4 separate regions of the Homo sapiens genome follow, and regions 2, 3 and 4 are each linked to region 1. Evidence: promoter capture Hi-C in 16 types of primary human blood cells and fetal thymus (Javierre and others, 2016). All regions are on one chromosome and are shown on one strand. The core of a region is centred on a gene start or on the middle of the fragment in contact, and the rest is flanking DNA. Distances in the headings are between cores, read along the strand shown. Region 1 holds the start of SEC24B (SEC24 homolog B, COPII component). Region 2 overlaps EGF (epidermal growth factor). Region 3 overlaps CFI (complement factor I). Region 4 overlaps CFI (complement factor I).

The links. The method cuts DNA at HindIII sites, captures the fragments that hold promoters and counts their contacts. A CHiCAGO score of 5 or more calls a contact.
Region 2: a contact is called between a fragment that was not itself captured here and the fragment with the promoter of SEC24B in region 1, in 1 of 17 cell types (megakaryocytes). The highest score is 6.7, in megakaryocytes.
Region 3: a fragment that was not itself captured here is called in contact with the fragment with the promoter of SEC24B in region 1 in 5 of 17 cell types (total B cells, naive B cells, non-activated CD4 T cells and 2 more); the score reaches 7.5 in total B cells.
Region 4: a fragment that was not itself captured here is called in contact with the fragment with the promoter of SEC24B in region 1 in 3 of 17 cell types (fetal thymus, non-activated CD4 T cells and total B cells); the score reaches 7.9 in fetal thymus.

What each region holds. Positions count from the first base shown.
Region 1 is chr4:109,432,421-109,435,419 of GRCh38, forward strand. It overlaps SEC24B (SEC24 homolog B, COPII component), which reads left to right and starts at 1,395. Exons shown (of 24, transcript NM_006323.5): 1 at 1,395-1,582. The coding sequence starts at 1,450. It overlaps SEC24B-AS1 (SEC24B antisense RNA 1), which reads right to left and starts at 1,397. Exons shown (of 3, transcript NR_039978.1): 1 at 1,314-1,397. RefSeq lists silencers at 1,025-1,414, 1,465-1,734, 2,113-2,407 and enhancers at 1,289-2,148, 2,225-2,374. The HindIII fragment of the contact is 940 bases long and covers 1,303-2,242 here.
Region 2 is chr4:109,924,630-109,927,628 of GRCh38, forward strand. All of the region lies in intron 1 of EGF (epidermal growth factor), which reads left to right. Among named protein-coding and RNA genes, the nearest start is that of EGF, 13 kb to the left of the region's middle. The HindIII fragment of the contact is 2,248 bases long and covers 445-2,692 here.
Region 3 is chr4:109,792,690-109,795,688 of GRCh38, forward strand. The region is part of intron 1 of CFI (complement factor I); the gene reads right to left. Among named protein-coding and RNA genes, the nearest start is that of CFI, 7.8 kb to the right of the region's middle. The HindIII fragment of the contact is 3,666 bases long and covers 1-2,999 here.
Region 4 is chr4:109,748,663-109,751,661 of GRCh38, forward strand. CFI (complement factor I) reads right to left here. Exons shown (of 13, transcript NM_000204.5): 9 at 837-940; 10 at 556-659. Among named protein-coding and RNA genes, the nearest start is that of PLA2G12A, 20 kb to the left of the region's middle. The HindIII fragment of the contact is 4,038 bases long and covers 1-2,999 here.

The DNA.
Region 1 (2,999 bases), core at 145-2,644:
ATCCAAATTCAAAGGACTCCTGGGAGATGCTGGAATCTGTAATTGTGTAATCTCTTTGATGAAGCACAGAGTGTGATCTTTTGCTCATGTGGGGCTAGGTTTCTGTGGAGAAGCTGGAAATGCTGTGGAAAAGGGCTTGCCCCTTTTGTGTATATGAACTCTAATGTAGTTGAAATTCCTAGAAGTCAAAGATATAAATCTAACTACTAAAATTCATTTAGTGCATTAAAATGCCAGTTATTAATTTACGGCAACAACTAAAGGGAAGCTTTGTATTATTCTAGGACTACAATGCAATTTATGCTTTGCATAATCATTCAGTAAATGACTTATTGCTCCAGAAATACCATCTTGCTAGATCCCATTCTGAATTCAGTGTTTCTGAGCAATCTCATCTCCAATACAGAGTGATGACATACTCAGGATTCCAAGACGGCAAAATGACTTGGGTAATGTAGTCTAGGGCCTGCCAGTGAGTATGCTGAGACAGACCAGAAAGACTTAAAGATTCCACTAATGTAGACAAAGCAAGCTGAGCCACAACTTCTCGGAACACCAACAGGATGCACCAACAATCGACAAAAAAAAAAAAAAAAAAGGAGATAAAGTTTAAAGTTTGTCTTCCAGCATTCCCTTACCCTATTTTCCCCTTCCTCTTCCCTACTTTATCAGTGGGAAAAGTTCTCAATAATGCAATTCTTACTGAGATTCTTGTGTTTATCAGAGAAATGTTTCCTCTTTCTTTGCCAAGGAATTATATATTCCCAACAGACATGGCGCTTGAATGCTATATTTCCTTTGGAATCAAGAAAGGGGAGGTGGGGGAATCAAAAATTAAAAACCAAACCCAAGCCATTGTTCCTCTTCGAGGAAGGGTGGGTGGTCAGTCGTCGCCTGAGCTCCGAACATCAACCCGCGGCTCTCAAGTTCCCCTCCCAGTAATGCTGGGCCCAGCCTCGCCGCGGCCGATCCAGCCTCTGCCCTAGGTGGAAGCGGGCCACCCGGTCCCTTCACCCACTGAGGCCCAGTCCTTTCGCCTCAACACGAAGGCACCTGGCCGGGCCGGAGCAGCAGCCGCGGGGCCGGCACTGGGGCCACGGAACCCCGGGCCAGACTCAGGCCTGGGCCAGCTCGGCTCCGGCCTGCAGGGGGCGCTGCGGCGGCACCGGCGCGAGGCCCGCGCGTGCGGGGAGCGACCCCAGGTGTAAGTCCCGGGGCGTGGGGCGCGTGGGTCAAGGCGGAGCGACCCAGGATCCCCGCGCCCGCGGCGGCCGCCGAGTGGCAGCGCTGGACTCGCGGAGAAGCTTGGGTACCTGAGCCGCGGTCCCGGGTGACACCCTCAGTGACGCCAGGCGCGTTCCTTCCTCTTCCTCTCTCCTCTCCGGCCCCGCCTTCCCTTCCCTCCGCCCACCTCCCTGAAGCGGAGCCGCCGTCGCCACCAGCGCCGTCATGTCGGCCCCCGCCGGGTCCTCTCACCCGGCCGCCAGCGCCCGGATCCCGCCCAAGTTCGGCGGAGCGGCCGTCTCAGGAGCCGCAGCGCCCGCGGGCCCGGGTGCGGGCCCGGCGCCGCACCAGCAGAACGGTGAGGCGGGCGGCCCGGGCGGAGCGCGGGGCCTAGCACCGGCTGGGCGGCCTGCACGGCCACATCGGGGCGGGGCGGGCCGGGCCGGGAAGGGCGTTCGGGGCCAGGCCCGGCCCGAGGGACGGGAGCGGGCGCGGTGCGGAGGCCGCGGGGTCCGGGTTGGGTGCGGGTAGGGGGCAGGGAAGGCACGGCGCGGGGCGCGCGGGGGTGGGACGCCCCTGGCGTGGGGGCGGGGGCCGGCCTGGGAAAGCTGGGGCCGTGGCTGTTTATGTAATGCGACCCCAGGCCCGAAACGGCCTCGGGCGAGTAGGGGCGACTGAAAAGCTGGGAGCCCACGTAGTAAAACCCAGTTACCTAGCCTGGACGCGGGCGAGTTGCCCCGAGCGACCCCTTGGCTGCGAGAGCTGGCCAGAAGCCGAGGCCGCTGAGTGCGTGGTCCGGAGAAGGCTGGTGCAGCCACCCAGCAGGGTGGATTGTGCCCTTCCTGTCTCAGGAAAATTGCTTCGGTTCCCGAGGCCCAGCGAACACGCTGCCTTGAGGAAACTTAAGTTTGCACTCAAGTTTGTAGACAAAAGGGTGTAAATATGCTATATAAGTGTAACTGTAACCCTGACCCAGTTCGGCCTCAAGAACTGTCATTGCCGCTGCGGCTGCTGCTCAAGCTTTTGGAGTTTGCTTGTAGTGTTTGAAAGGGAGCAGATGTAAACGGATTTAAACGAACATCTTTAGATCTGGGTGTTTTTCCTAGCTCCACTTTCAGAGATGAAAAAACGTGCCAGAGTTGGCCCTGCTTTGAGGCAGGGCCTTCATACAGGCAGCAGCCAAATGCAGCACGAAAGCCGCTTTCATATTAAGGTCGTGGGCTTTTAGTAGGCTGCAAAATGATGGATATGCATTCCCTAATGCTGAGATTTGGAATGTTCGCGGATAGGGGCCAAGGGTGGAGGAATTCTCCTTACAGACTTCTTAGTATGTCAGATGAGAACCTTGGAAAGTAATTGACTGAATTTAGAAAAATACCTCTGTCCTGTGTTGGTACGAGAACCAAACTGCATTAGTACTCTCCAGATGATTGACCTGTTTTATCTAATTTCCTAATGAAAATCTGCTGGACTTTATGAATTAGTTTAATCAACATCTAAGTTTTACAACTGATGCTTTTCAAACATGAAGTGTATCGTTTGTCCTGAGGATCAGAAGTTGAGTGATACTTTAGCCTTAATATTCTTTGGATCAGCCTTACCTATCAGTATTACATGCTGTACTCTCAGTAGTCATTGTTTACTATAATCGCTTTTGGATATAAACCTGTTCTGAACAAATGTAAAAATACTATTTGTGAGCAGTGTTTGTTCTTGTAACCTTAATATAAGTTCTTGTTTTTGTTTGTTTTTAAAATAGCTTTATGAAGGAACTA
Region 2 (2,999 bases), core at 319-2,818, 490 kb after region 1:
AAAACTAACCCTTACAAAATTCAACAAGTGGCTCAGACGCCTTCCTACAAAGAAACTAAAGATTGCAGACAACACTAATATTGCAAACCTAAGAGAATAATGAGGAAAGGGCAGTCTTGACACCTTTCTTATTCCTAGGATGAGCTTTTTGTTGGCTACGTAAGAGCTGAAAGCAACGTAAATCTCCATAGATCTGACCAAAAAAAGTTAAAAAGAGAAATTAACAAGAAGACAGCCTGAAAAATGGATTTACAATTGTTATTATTAGCGACGAACCTCACAAAAACTGTAAAGTGTACCTGGGAAGATGTTAGCTAGTGGTAACATGAAGCCATCAGGACAAGCAAGATATTTGTAAATGAGTATCCAGGATCTGAAAATGATTTTTTATAATTTTTACAGTTGTGTTCAAAGTTATGATAGTTAAGAAGACTCTATTTACTAAGCTTAATGAAAAAAGTCAGAAGCCTCTCTTGAGGTTTCTTACATTACGGCAAAAGAGGAAAAGCCTGATATTATTGGTGAAACACTTGTTCTTCCTGCTTCCTGTTGTGGTAAAATATTGCTAAAATAATACATGAAAAACCACATGACAACAAATTAAAATGTGTTCCTTTGTAAACAAATACTGCTGAAAACTGTACAGAAAGAATCAATGAAAATGTGATGAAGTAAGTACTAAGCAATTATACTGTTGAATGGAAGTAAAGGTGTTTCTAATATATCACAGCGTATGGTTGTTTTCTAGAAAGTAATAGCCAAAATTTACTGGGAACTCACTATGTGTCAGACAAGATTCTAAGCACTTTACATGAATTACTTTACTTATTCTTTTTAACAATCTCTGAGGTAAGTATTACTATTATTCCCATTTTATTTTTGCAGATGAAGAAACCAAGACACGGAGAGGTTAAGTCATGTGCTGAAGGCCACACTGTCAATAGTATTGGAGCCAATAAAGAGTCAACATGAGTACTCCGTCTCCAATGCCAGTAATCTTAGCCACTATCATAATTACCTCAACAATGAAATGCTCAGAGAACTGTAATTCTTTTCTATGAGAGAGTAAGGGAAAAATGCAACAGAAAAGAAATTTTCTCAGTGAAAGTTCTCAGAAGTCAGAAATGACTTTTTTATATATCAGAAAATGTTCTATGAAAAAAATGGTATAAGTGTATTCAGCAGTGGTACACCCACTGCATTTACTAGGACATCAACCAAAAAGCATTCTTGGTGAGATCACAGAGAACACCACAGCCTTCACAGCAAGACGTGTGGCAAAGAAGTTGAAACTGGAATTGCATCAAGCATTATGGAACATCATTGATGTAGTTATTCCTATAAAACAAGACTAGTCTCTTTATAATACTTTGTACTGGATGGGGAGTAATCATAAAAATCTTTGTCTTACATACTTCCCACAAAGTATCTTGAAGCAAAGCACTTAATAGAACAGTCAAATGTCACATGTCACAAAACGTCAAATGTCACAAGCAGGAGGATTGCTTGAGGCCAGAGTTTGTGACCAGCCTAGGCAACATAGGAGACCCTATCTCTACAAATAACTTAAAAACTTAGCTGGGCATGGTGGTATGTGACTGTAGTCTTGGCTTTTCGGAAGGCTGAGGCGGGAGGATCTCTTGAGCCCAGGAGTTCAAGGCTGCAGTGAGCTAGGATTGTGCTACTGCACTCCAGCCTGGGCAACAGAGTGAGACACTGTCTTTTTTTTTTTTTTTTTTTTCCGAGACGGAGTCTCTCTCTGTCGCCCAAGCTGGAGTGCAGTGGCGCGATCTCGTCTCACTGCAAGCTCCACCTCTCGGGTTCACGCCATTCTCCTGCCTCAGCCTCCCGAGTAGCTGGGACTACAGGCGCCCGCCACCACACCCGGCTAATTTTTTTTTGTATTTTTAGTAGAGACGGGGTTTCACCGAGTTAGCCAGGATGGTCTCGATCTCCTGACCTCGTGGTCCGCCTGCCTCGGACTCCCAAAGTGCTGGGATTACTGGCGTGAGCCACTGCACTCGGCCGTGACACCGTCTTTAAAAGAAGAAAAAGAAAAGGACAAGTGTTTAACAATTTTTGGCTTTTTAAAAATTTTTGTGATTACAGATAGATGTCAGTAGTATGCTACCCAAAAAGTAACTAAAACAACAAAACTTTATCCAAGTTATAGGTGATGTTTTAACAAGTGAGAAAGTGACCACTAATTATAAGAAATTTGTGTAGGAAGAGAGCAGTTTGAAGATAGATGTTGGAGATGTTTCCATTGTTATGTGATTTTATTGTTGAATCAATGCCAATATGTCACCTGTTAAAAATTCTTGTGTCTGCGCTTTTAAAACATTTACAAACAGCTTTCTAAGCTATTTTAAAAAAATCTTCCAAATACAGAGTTTTTGTCTTTTTAAATCCACTTGTTAAAAACGTAAAATGCAATACCTTCTGGTTAGTTTTCATTTACTGTTTAAAATCTAGAAAGATAGAAATTTGCTGGTCTAATTCAACAAAATTTGTGAATAATCGAGGGATGTAATTAAAAAGTAAATTTTGTGATTTTGTAAATACAGCCAATGATGCATTTATTTCATCTGATGTAGACATAATTGTGAAAAATTATTTTTGTTTAAAAAAGCTGTCAAAAACCAAATATCAAAACATGTTGATCTTTAAACTAGATTTTTTATCAAATTCAAGCTTTTCAGTAAATGCAAACTAATCAGAAGGTGTTATGTAATCTCAATTTTTAACATGCGGGGGGACTTTTGGGACTGTGGGGCATTCCTAACTGGAGATGTCCACCAAAGACATGTCCAGGCCGGGCGCAGTGGCTCATGCCTGTAATCCTAGCACTTTGAGAGGCCGAGGCAGGCGGATCACGAGGTCAGGAGATTGAGACCATCCTGGCTAACACAGTGAAACCCCGTCTCTACTAAAAACACAAAAAATTAGTTGGGCGTGGTGGCGGGCGCTTGTGGTCCCAGCTACTCGGGAGGCTGAGG
Region 3 (2,999 bases), core at 156-2,655, 360 kb after region 1:
TATATTCCTGAAGAATTGACCCTTTCATTAATATATCATGTAATTTATCTCTTGTAACGGTTTTTGACTTAAGGTCTATTTTGTCTGGTATTAGTATAGCCACTTTAGCTCTTTTTTGATTGTTATTTGCACATAATATCTTTTCTATCCTTTATTTCTTTGGACCTAAAGGCAGCCTCTTTAGACAGCATATAGTTGGATAATAATTTTAAAAAACTGATTCTGCCAATCTCTGCCTTTTGATATTAGAATTTAATCCACTTCCATTTAAAGTAATTGCTGATAAGAAAGGACTTACTCTTCTATTTGCTATTTGTTTATTGTATGTCTTATACCTTTTTTGTTTCTCATTTTCTCCATTACTGCCCTTTTTGTGTTTAGTTGATTTTTTCATATTCAACTATTTCAGTTCTCTCTTTATTTCCTTCTGTGTATATTTTTTAGATATTTTCTTTTTCGGTACTATGGAGATTACAATTAATAGTGATTAAATTTATAGTAATCTAGTTTGAATTGATAACTTGGCTTTGAGAGCATACAAAACTCTGTTCCTATACTGCTCCATCCATTCCTTTATGTTGTTATTGTCATGTTACATCTTTATACATTGTGCACTGTTAACACAGAATTAGAATCGTTTTATATAGTTGTCTTTTAACTCATGTGGGAAAGGAAAAGAAGAGATACAAAACCAAAATAATATAATACTGGCTTTTATATTTACCTATGTAGTTACCTTTACTGGAGTTCTTTATTTCTTCATATTACTTCAAGTAACTGCCAAATGTCCTTTCACTGCAGTATGCAGGGTTCTCTGACTTGCACTGTATTTCTTTATTTTAATTTAATTTTATTTTAGAGATGATCTCACTCTGTTGCCCAGGTTTGAATGAAGTGGTGTAGTCAGAGCTCACTGCAGTTTTGAACTCCTGAGCTCAAGTGATTCTCCCACCTCAGCCTCCCGAGTAGCTGAGACTACAGATACATGCCACTACACCTAGCTAATTTTATTTTTTAGAGAGATGGGCTCCTGCTGTGTTTTCCAGGATAGTCTTGAACTCCTGGGCTTAAGCAGTCCTCCTGCCTCATTCCCCTAAAGTGCTGGGATTATAGGCAATGAGCCACCACACCCAGCTACTTGTAGTGCATTTCCTGTAGGACAGGTCTATTAGTAGCTAACTCCTTCAGCCTCTATTTATCTGTGAATTTCTTCATTTCTCCTTCATTTGTGAAGGATAGTTTTGCCAGATACAGAATTCTTGGTTGACAGTTTTTTACTTTCAACAAATAAAATTTTCATCTGCCCTCCATGGTTTCTGATGAGAAAGCTGCTGCTAATCTTACGGAATCTCATGACTATGTTGTTTTCAAGACTTTCTTCATCCTTGGTTTTGACAATTTGATTATAATGTGTCTTGGTTTGAACCTTTTTGTGTTTATCCTTCTTGGATTGCATTGAGCTTTTTGAATGTGGACAGCCATGCATTTGATCAAATGTGGAAATTTTTCAGCCATTATTTCTTCATATATTCTCTCTTACTTTCTTATTTTCTCCTTCTGGGGTTCCATTATATATATTTTGGTATGCTTTATGGTGTCACACGAGTCTCATAGGCTCTGTTCATTCCTTGTCATCCTTTTTTCTTTCTGCTTCTCATACTGGATAATTAATTAAATGGACTGATCTTCAAGTTTGTTGACTATTTCTTCTGCCTGCTCAAATCTTCTACTGAAACCTATTAGAAAATTTTTCATGTTTGTTATTGTGCTTTTCAACTCCAGAAGTTTTGTCTAGTTCCTTTTTAAAATTTCTATTTGTTGGCCAGTCACGGTGGCTCATACCTGTAATCCCAGCACTTTGGGAGGGTGAGGTGGGTGGATCACTTGAGGTTCAGGAGTTCAAAACCAGCCTGGCCAACATGGTGAAACCCCATCTTTACTAAAAATACAAAAATTAGCTGGGTGTGGTGGTGGGCACCTGTAATTCCAGCTATTCAGGGGGCTAAGGCATGAGAATTGCTTGAACCTGGGAGGCAGAGGTTGCAGTGAGCCAAGATTGTGCCACTGCACTCCAGCTTGGGTGACAGAGCAAGACTCTGTCTCCAAAACAATTCTATTTATTTATTAATATTCTATATTTGTTTATACATTATTATCAGGGTTTCCTGTAGCTCTGAGCACATTTAAGACAGTTGAAGCGTGTGACATTGGCAAGATGGTGGAACAAAATGTCCCAGCACTTGTCTTCCCACAGAAACACCAATGTAACAACCATCTACAAATAAAAATACCTTTATGAGAGCTCCAGGATCAAGGTGAGAGGTTACAGCATGCAAGTGGAACAAATATATGAGAAAAAATTGAAAGGATAAGAAAATAAATTTCACTTTATAGAGTTACCCTTTACCCTACACAGCATACACGATGCTGAAAGAGATTCCTTTGGATCATGAGCTCTCTTGTGGGGGAAAAAGAGAGCAACCCTGCTCCTGGGCACTGGCATCAAGACTGTCTACCCACACAGTGACGGTGGCACCAGGCCTGCCCGTGGACCACAGCACCGAGCCCACTGGTAGACCCAGGCACCAGGCCCACCCACACATGGTCTCAAGCAACAAGCCGTTCACACGGGCCTTGCCAGCTGACCCACCCAGAATCTCTGGCTGACTGATTTGTGAAAGACTTTTTCTGCCAAAGTCAGTCTGTGAAGACTGAAAGAGGTGGCTGCTTCTTCAAACATCCAGACATTAATACAGGTTACAAGGATTATGAAGAAAAAAGACACTATCCAAGGAGCACATAAAGCTCCAATAAGTGACTCTAAAGAATTGGAGACCTACAAATTGCTTGACAAAGAATTCAAAGTAACATCTTAAAGAAGCTCAAAGAGCTATAAAAGGACACAGATAAACAACTACACAAAATTAGGGGAAAATAATTCATGAGCAAAATGAGATATTCAACAAACATAAACCATAAAAAAGAACCAAAGAGAAATT
Region 4 (2,999 bases), core at 276-2,775, 320 kb after region 1:
AGCAATCCAGAGTAGAGGTGGTGGAACAGGGAGCAGGAGGTGGCTCTGTGGGGCAAGATGAGATTGGCAAAGGTTAGCAGAGGTCAGATTACATGGGGCCTCATGGGCCATGTTAAAATTTTTGTTTCAATTCTTATCCTAAGAGGAATGCAAAGTCATTGCATTTTAGGTGACAAGTAATCAAAACTAGGTATGGCAACATGACTCTTGAGCCACACAGTAAAGAAAATATAGGTAGGCCACAGTGGAGAACAAAATGTAAGTAGTACCTACCCACTCTCCCACTTTGCAAATAAGCCAGGTGAAGTAATTTGGCAGCTATGGGTTTGATCTGCCTTTGCCAGTGAGATCAGCAATTTTGGTCTGTGGAGGACACAGTAGATTCTACGGGATTAGCCTCTGGAATTCCAGTCGCGAATACCAGAGGATACTTTGCAATTAATATAGTGGAGTTTGTCAGTACCTTTTTCAGATATGCTTTATCATCTGCCACAATCTCTATTACTCACTTTCATTGTTTCGGGAAATCTAAAATTTACTGAAGACATCTTTTACCTGAGACAATGTGCAGCAGTCAGAATCCAACAGCCACCAATATAAATTCCCCCACAGGTGATTCCACTGGCATCCTTAATTGCCACCTGCCATGGGAGGTCTCCCTGTAAAAGACATTTGTGTGGTCACTGCCATTCTAACAGATAGCGATACAAACAGCCCTAAGATATTTCCATGGCAAGACTCCCAGTCTCTTATAATTACATCATCCTCCTGCCCCTTTCCCCCCAAATTTAGGCTGTTTCTGGGCAGTTGCATTGTGACTTTTCATGCGACTTTACCAGTTGTGCTCGCTTTCCTCCCACAATTCGTTTCCTTCGAATGTGCATTCTGTTTTTAACTCCACAAGATAGTTTAGGTAATAATGATTTTATCCGTCTTCTTTCTTCAAGAAAGGAAGAGATTACATCATTATTATCTTGAACCCATTAGCGTTTTTAACACACTTCTTGATTATCTATGCCACAAAAACAGGAGAGTCACAGCCAGTACAAGACAGGCTGGAATCATTAGTAAATTATTTTGAATGCTAAACCATACTATTCATCTTATTTAAAAATTCTGGCTTGATATTAAAATTGGCTTGATTCTCTGAAGTTCTGCCTAAAGATAGACTAGTGGCAGAAAAGGGCTGGCCAAGAGGTTAAACATTTACCAGCCTCTAGCTGATAAAGGATGCCACATGTCCAGGCACTGTGGCAGTGGCAGCTCAGAAGGGAATCACATTCTGAAATCATCAGGGTAAACTAACAACATGGCAAACTGTGTCTTTTCTTTTCTTTCTTTCTTTTTTTTTTGAGATGGAGTCTCAGTCTTGTGCCCAGGCTGGAGTGCAATGGCACGATCTCAGCTCACTGCAACCTCCGCCTCCCGGGTTCAAGGGATTCTCCTGCCTCAGCCTCCCAAGTAGCTGGGATTACAGGCGCCCACCCCCACGCCCAGCTAATTTTTGTTTTTTTAGTAGAGATGGGGTTTCACCATGTTGGCCAGGCTGGTCTCGAACTCCTGACCTAATGTGATCTGCCCACCTCAGCCTCCCAAAGTGCTGAGATTACAGGGTGAACCACCACGCCCAGCCATAGTTTTTATTTTCTAGAGGCTGTTTATATGGAACTCTTATATTAATATCAATGTTAACATAGTGATACTCTTATTAAGTACTTTCTATATGTCAGGCCCCATACTGAGTCTTTGTATATAGTTTATCTCATTTAATCATCCTATTAACCCTGAGAGATGATGTGCCAGTGACCCCGGGACAAGTGGGTTAGCGGGCTGGGGAGTGTTTTTTAGCCATTTGACATGTGACAATGTTTCCTTCCTCTGTCTGTGAGCATGCAGACGTCTGGCGCATTTGTCATGAGAAAACACGGTAGAGCAAAGTTTATGACCTGAATTTTCCAAAGAATTTATGATGACTGAAGAAAGTAAAATATATCCCTTTATTTCCTCTCTATATTTTAACATGTCATGAAAATTTTTGTAAACTTGCTTCTTAGCCCCAGATGAGAAAGGAAAATGAATATTGCTGTTAATAATTTTGGGCATACCGAAAGGAGTTAGGCCCCCAAGAAAGAGCCGTTGTTGTATGGAGGCTAAAGCAACTTCATCTTGGATACTAATCTGCCATGTTAGCTTCTGATTAACCCCAATTCCGGGAAGGCCTCTGAGATTTCCAGTTTATCTATTATTCCTTGTATAAGAGCATGTACTTACTATAAATCCTGGCCTTATGGCAAATTCCTACCCATTAGCTCTGAAGCCTGTGTGCCCCTCCCCTACAGTATATAATCTCTGAGTCGGGAGAGAACTAGCACAAGGATCCACCATCTTGTCTCACTGTTGTCCAGGACACAGACCTGGCTTCCATTAGTAAGTCCCTATTAAATGTTTCTTTCTAAGGAACTGGACATGTCAGCCTCTTTGTTTGGCCTCTCAGCTTCCTTAGACTTTGGGGGCTGATTTGTGTGAACCTGCCCACTGTGAAACACATGGATAGAAGATGGTTTTTTTTGGTCTCACCCATCCTAAGAACTGGGGTGGGGGAAGAGTGTGATGGTAAGTTTTTGCTTACACTTTTGAAGGAAGAGGGATCTCATGCTCTGAGGACTGTGAAACCAACTTAGGTAGTATCTGAAAATGAATGTTATTCTGAGTAAAAATAAAGGGCCATTGTTGAAAATGCCTTTTGACTAACATCTATAGCTTCGAGAGCTAAATCTTTTTTTTTTTTTTTTTTTTTGAGATGGAGTCTCACTCTGTTGCCCAGGCTGGAGGGCAGTGGCACAATCTTGGTTCACTGCAACCTCCACCTCCCGGGTTCAAGCGATTCTCCTGCCTCAGCCTCCTGAGCACCTGGGATTACAGGCACCTGCTACCATGTCTGGCTAATTTTTATATTTTTGTAGAGATGGGGTTTCACCATGTTGGCCAGGCTGGTCTTG